Linked DNA regions of Homo sapiens: region 2 is linked to region 1. The links are contacts of gene promoters, found by promoter capture Hi-C in human tissues and cell types (Jung and others, 2019). All regions are on one chromosome and are shown on one strand. Each heading gives the region's core, a stretch centred on a gene start or on the middle of the fragment in contact. The rest is flanking DNA. Distances are from core to core; before and after follow the strand shown.

Region 1 (3,155 bases), core at 512-3,011:
GGGGCACCTCCACTCAGAATCCTTTCGTGGTTGCCAAACTGTCAACCCGAAATACCTGAGACAGGTCTCAGTCAACTTAGAAAATTTATTTTGCTAAGGTTAAGGACACACCCATGACACAGCCTCAGGAGGTCCTGACAACATGTGCCCAAGTGGCCTGGGCACAGCATGGTTTTATACATTTTAGGGAGACAAAATACATCAATCAATACATGTAAGATTTACATTGGTTTGATCTGGAAGGACAAGACAACTCGAAGTGGGAAACTTCCAGGTCATTGGTAGATTTAAACATATTCTGATTGGCAATTGGTTGAAATAATTATTATCAGTAGAAAGGGATATCTCGGTTAAGATAAGGGGTTATGGAGACCAAGGTTTTACCATGCAGATGAAGCCTCCAGGTAGCAGGTTTCAGAGAAAATAGATCGTAAATGTTTCTTATCAGACTTAAGGTTTTTGTTGATGTTAATGCTGGAGGGTATAATGAGGCATGTCCAACCCCCACTTCCCATCATGGCCTGAACCACTCTTTCAGGTTAAATTTGAGTGCCCTGGCCAAGCAGGGAGTCTATTCAGATGGTTGCTGGTGGCCTTCAAATTTTATTTTATATATATATATATTTTTTGAGACGGAGTCTCCCTCTGTTGCCCAGGCTGGAGTGCAGCGGCAACATCTAGGCTCACTGCAATCTCTGCCTCCGGAGTTCGAACAATTCTCCTCCCTCAGCCTCCCGAGTAGCTGGGTTTACAGGCGCGTGCCACCACGCCCGGCTAATTTTTGTATTTTTAGTAGACATGGGGTTTCACCATGTTGGCCAGGCTGGTCTCATACTCCTGACCTCAGGTGATCCACCCACCTCGGCCTCCCAAAGTGGCAAAGTGCTGAGATTACAGGCGTGAGCCACTGAGCCCGGCCTCTCCTTCTTTTAAAGACTGGGTTTCTAACAGCTTCTGAGGCCTTAAGGATCCTGACAGGGCCGGGCTGCACCACACTCCCTCGTGTTACAAATGGGGAAACCGGGGCACAGAGCAGAGGCGTTTTTCCTGAGATCACACAGCCAATCAGGGCGAGAACTGAGAATCGAACCTTGATCTCTCCACTCCATGATTGTGATTCCGAGTAACTCATGTTATTTTAAATCGACACTTGTCTTAAGAACGTTCGGACGGCGAACCACTGAGAGTTCCCGAGGGGCGAATACTCAGCTCTCAATAGGTTCCTGCGGGGAAAATCTGGCTGCGCCGGCGCGCGCGGGTGCTTTAACGCAATCTGGTTACAGCAACCCACGTGTCCTCCGCTTCCGGGATCCTTAAGGCCGTCGCTTCGGGTGGTAAAACCCGGCCCGCCCTCTTGTTGCCCAGGCTGGAATGCAATGGTGCAATCTCATGTTGGGAAGTGTAGCTCCACCTTCCTCCAGACATAGGGGCGTGGGCGGCTTGGAACTGCATTTCCCAGGAGGCTGCGCTCGCCGTTAGAGTAGCCGGACGACGGGCTGGTGGGGTGAACCCTTCATCCTGGGTCTTTTAATTTCTCAGGCGGAACGAGTGGCGGCGGACAGAGGCTTTTGGCTGCGCTGTCTGTGGGTTGTCTGGGCTTGGGGAACTGGGCACGGAGACCGTGGCGCCGGCCGCCGGTCATACAGCTCTGCTTCCAGTCGTCGGGCAAAAAGCTGAGGCGCTTCTCCTTTAATTGCGGTGGGCGGGGCGTGCCGACGCGGCCCGCGTTGCTATTGGTGGCCGTTGGGGGCGCGGAAACTGAACGGGCCGCAACGGCCACCGCAGCTGCCTTCGGCGCCGCCAGCCCCGCCATGGCTGCGCCCTGCGCGGTAAGCCCAGCCGAGAGCAACTCCCCAGGCCTCAGTCTCCCCGCTGGGACACTGGGCGCCTAATGGCCAGAGCGATGGCTGCGAGGGGCGGGCGGGGCGCCAGGTTCCAGGGTGGTCCTCTTCAGGTCCAGTTTACTGTCTGCGCAGGGGGCGCTGGGTCGGGCACTTTCTGAGCGCCTCCTGCGTGCCAGGCCCTGCGCTGGGTTTCTGGAGCGAACAAACAGGCCTCTGCCTCCATAGTTTGCATCCTAGCGAGGGACACACGACCAAGTCCCGACTCATGTGTGACCTGGGGCCGGTATCGGGCCTCTCTAGCCATTCTCCACGTCCTTAGCAGTGGGTGGCTGCGTGGGGTCTTGTTGAGGGTACACCCTGCTCCAGCAGGTAGGTACAGCAGGACGCTGGGATGCCCGGGCCTGCAGTGTGAGCGGGGCGGAGCCGCCCTCTCTGAGTTCACATTCCTCCAGAAGTCCTCATTTCGAGAGATTCCTTTGAACGGGCAAGGCCCTCTGGCTGATTGGAGAGTCAGGGAGGCTGGGTGGTAGCCTGTGATGCCCTGAGGCACTTGAGGACATGGACGGAGATTCCAGGCTAGGATACAGACCTTTTGACTCCTAATCTGGTACTCTACCTCCCTTCCTGTCCCCTCATGTATAAACCACTGTTGAGGGAGATGAGGCCCACATGCAGGGAACTACAGAGGGGAGGCGGTGTTGAGAGATACCATGGGACCTACTGGTCAGGGGTGGACCTGAACTTGCCTCTGCCCACTGAGCCTAGGGGCGGACACTCTCTTACGCATGTTCTTTCAAGAAGCTTAGGTGAGAGCAGAAGGCTCTGTTGGGGACCCTCCCCCAGCTGCTCCTCCCTCTGTTGTTGAAAGGAGACTCTGACAGGTGCGTTAGGGGTGGAGCTGGGCACAAGGCCATAGGGCCTTTGTTCTGGTTACTGCTCTGTAGGGTGGCAGTGGCTTTGCTGTGCCCCAAGGACATCCTTTCCCAGGAGGAGCCTTTGGGCTTCCTGGAGCACCCAAAATGCTTCTTTGAGGTTTCTGATACTTAGAGTAGGGGGAGATGTTTGGATGGCTGAATTATAACCCTTCAAGTGTTAAGACACAAGCTGCTATTGGATGGAGAGAGTCTCCGGAGTATTCTCTCTGGTGTTTTAACTTTATTAAGTTATTCATACACCACAGAATTCACCTTTTAAAGTGTACATTTCAGTAGTTTTTAGTACATTCACAGTGTTGTGCAACTGTAATCACTAATTCCAGAATATTTTCATCATCCCAAAAAGAAACTCCATACTCAATAACAGTCATACCAT
Region 2 (2,905 bases), core at 225-2,724, 44 kb after region 1:
TAGTCCAGTCACCTATTCTTGAATCTGTGTTCTCCAGGCCACCTGTCTCCTGTGTTATCCTTGGTGTCTCCCTTGCTGTCTTGATGTCCTGTCTCCCACTTCTCACCCTGCACATGTGGATGCCTAGGCCAGCTCCCATCCTCCAGACAGCCTGCTAGACTTTAGGGAAGCAGATGGGTGAGAGTCTCTGTCTGAGCCAGAGATGGCTTGGGTGTATATGGCTTAACATTTGAACCCCAGATGAAGGTCTTATTTGCAGAGCCTCTTTTTTTTTTTTTTTTTTTTTTTTAATTTTGAGACAGAGTCTAGCCATTCTTGCCTAGGCTGGAATGCAATAGCGCGATCTCGGCTTACTGTAACCTATTCCTTCCAGTTCAAGAGATTCTCCTGCCTCAGCCTCCTGAGTAGCTGGGATTACAGGCACCTGCCACTACACCTGGCTAATTTTTGTATTTTTAGTAGAGACAGGGTTTCACCATGTTGGCCAGGCTTGTCACAAACTCTTGACCTCTGGTGATCTGCCCGCCTTGGCCTCCCAAAGTGTTGGGATTACAGGCATGAGCCACCGTGCCCGGCCTGCAGAGCCTCTTGAAGAGGTGCCTCCAGGTAGCAAGAGCAGAGACAAGCCCTGAAACAGCGATTAGGGTAGAGGTGGCAAGGTTGGAGTGGAAGCCAGAACTCCCTTCTCTGAACTGCCCCCTTGAGGGGCTAATGGTGTTTCCTGTCACTAGAAAAATTTCCATCCATTCTAAAAGCAAGTAGGTTCCTCTCCAGAGGAGAGTTCATGATGTTGAGGAAGGAAGGCCTATTTAATGACTTAAACCAATGGGAGGTGTGTTCTCAGACATCCAGGGAAAAGCATATTAAGACAATCACAGTATCAGGAAGACAGAGCAACCTGACTCAGGAACTCAGACAAAGGCTGGAGGCCCTTGGGTCCAGCTCTGCGTGCATCAGTACACATTTGGCATATAAACCCAGGCACACACACTCCTTTGAGAGCTTCGTTATCTCTTTCGAGAGTTCCAGAACTGTTTTGGGTTTTCCTTTTCCCCTGGCAGCCAAAGCTTGGGCTTAGGGTTATTGGAGCTTCCACATGTGCATGTGGGGAAATGAACCTGAGTCACAGGACAGAAAGTGGAGTCTCAACACTGTGATGCTTTCCTACAAGGCACACATGGCCCCAGGCAGAGCCAGGCTGCATGCCTTGAAGGACCTTTTGCTTCACACACTGGGGCCACTGCTATGACACTGCCTTTTTGCCAATAGTGATGACAGGCAATCTAAAGCCCCATCATCACCTCTCCACAGGAGAGCCCACAGAGGCCACAAGAATCGTCTTGTAACAATTGTTTGCTGCAAAGCAGAGAGGGTGCACAAGAACCGAGGGCTTTGGCATTTAAGGATCTTTCTTCCCTTTTATTTTGTTCTTTTGTTTTCATTCTATTTTTTTAAGCTCAGAAACCTGAAAATGAAATAAATGAGCCACAGGTAGAAATAAACCTGTCGCTTAAGTCTGACTGATTTTTGGGGCCACCATTCACTGCTCCTAGTGTTGTTGCGCTCATCCTTATAGTCTCTTTCCAGATGGCACCTCCTCCATGCAGGCTTCCTTGGGAGGCTGGCAGCTGGTGAGTTCTTCCTGCTCCACCTGCCTGGAGCACTCTCCTACCTGGAGCAGCCCCGCTCTCCTGTTGTCTGTTATTTACAGACCTAACTTTTCTCCCTGGAGGGCTGGGGCCTTGCTCTTGCCATGGTGCTCAGTATGTGTCTGACACATAAAAAATGCTCAGGAAGTCAAAGCATTCTCACGTCTGTGGGCAGCATAAGTTGAGTGTGTGAGGCTAGAGGCGGGCTGTCTTTCCTTTTGGCATTTTTGATGGTCTCAGACTAAAAGAAGGAAGCTACCTTCTGGCCTTATTTGTCAGTTTTGGGGGGCAGATGACATGGGGTGGTGTGGGCAGTGGCAGGGCAACAGAGGGTGGTAGAGTCTGCATGCCTAGATTAGAAGTTTCAGAACTTCTTTTCATTTTAAATGGAAAAAAACCCTTTGTGGTTTATATTTTCCAGATTGGACAGCAGCATTGCCATGTGGTGTAAGGGTGTTGGATAGTGCTTGTGTTTATGTTCTTATTGGTTGCCATGGAAAAAAAATCAGAATAGATGGTTTCCATGGAGATTATCTTACAATTAGTTTCTTTGAAGGTCCGGACATTGCTGCAGGATTCGCTGAGTACTCGTTGCCATCAGGGGCTTTCTCTGTGGCAGTGCTAAAGGCTGGTCAGAACGTTCCGTGGACTTAGACAAAGTCATCTGCCTCCTATGCTTGCAAATCCCAGGACACCAGAGTGGAGGTGATCCTGTGGCTGAGCTTCCTCTTGGAGTCCCACTTGCCTTGGATCAGCTCCGCAGCTCCTTTCAGTCACCAGGAAGGTTTTTTTTTTTGTTTGTTTGTTTTAATTAAACAAAACAAAACAAAACAAAAACCTTTGTATTGTGGAAATTTCAAGCTAGCACAAAAGATAGAATAATGTAACAAACCCCATGTACCACTCACCTAGCTTCAACATTCTGCTAATCTCATTTCATCTGTTTCCCCCACATTTTAAAGAAGAGTTTGAGTGGTTTTAAAAATCCCAGATATATCATTTTTTACTCCAAATAAGGCCATTTCTTAGTTATATAATAGCAGTGCTCTTATCACATCCAATGAAATTAATAGTTCCTTCATATCAGATATCTAGTCCACATTCACATTTTCCCACATTGTGTCATTGTTCAAATAAGGATGCGGAAAGCTTTGAGAAAACCCATGTTCTCTGCTCCCCCTTCCCCGACCCATGGTTCTGGTAGGCGGAGTAGCTGAGGGGGCTTTGGCCTGGAGCTGTCTTGGGCTTGGGGAAGG

The links. The method cuts DNA at HindIII sites, captures the fragments that hold promoters and counts their contacts. A contact is called where the count stands out against the background at its distance.
Region 2: a contact is called between a fragment that was not itself captured here and the fragment with the promoter of POC1A in region 1, in 1 of the 25 tissues and cell types used here (dorsolateral prefrontal cortex).

Annotation. Positions count from the first base shown.
Region 1 is chr3:52,153,029-52,156,183 of GRCh38, reverse strand. POC1A (POC1 centriolar protein A) reads left to right here and starts at 1,761. Exons shown (of 11, transcript NM_015426.5): 1 at 1,761-1,829. The coding sequence starts at 1,812. RefSeq lists enhancers at 414-1,390, 1,391-2,368. The HindIII fragment of the contact is 12,174 bases long and covers 1-3,155 here.
Region 2 is chr3:52,109,037-52,111,941 of GRCh38, reverse strand. All of the region lies in intron 9 of POC1A (POC1 centriolar protein A), which reads left to right. Among named protein-coding and RNA genes, the nearest start is that of POC1A, 44 kb to the left of the region's middle. The HindIII fragment of the contact is 6,699 bases long and covers 1-2,905 here.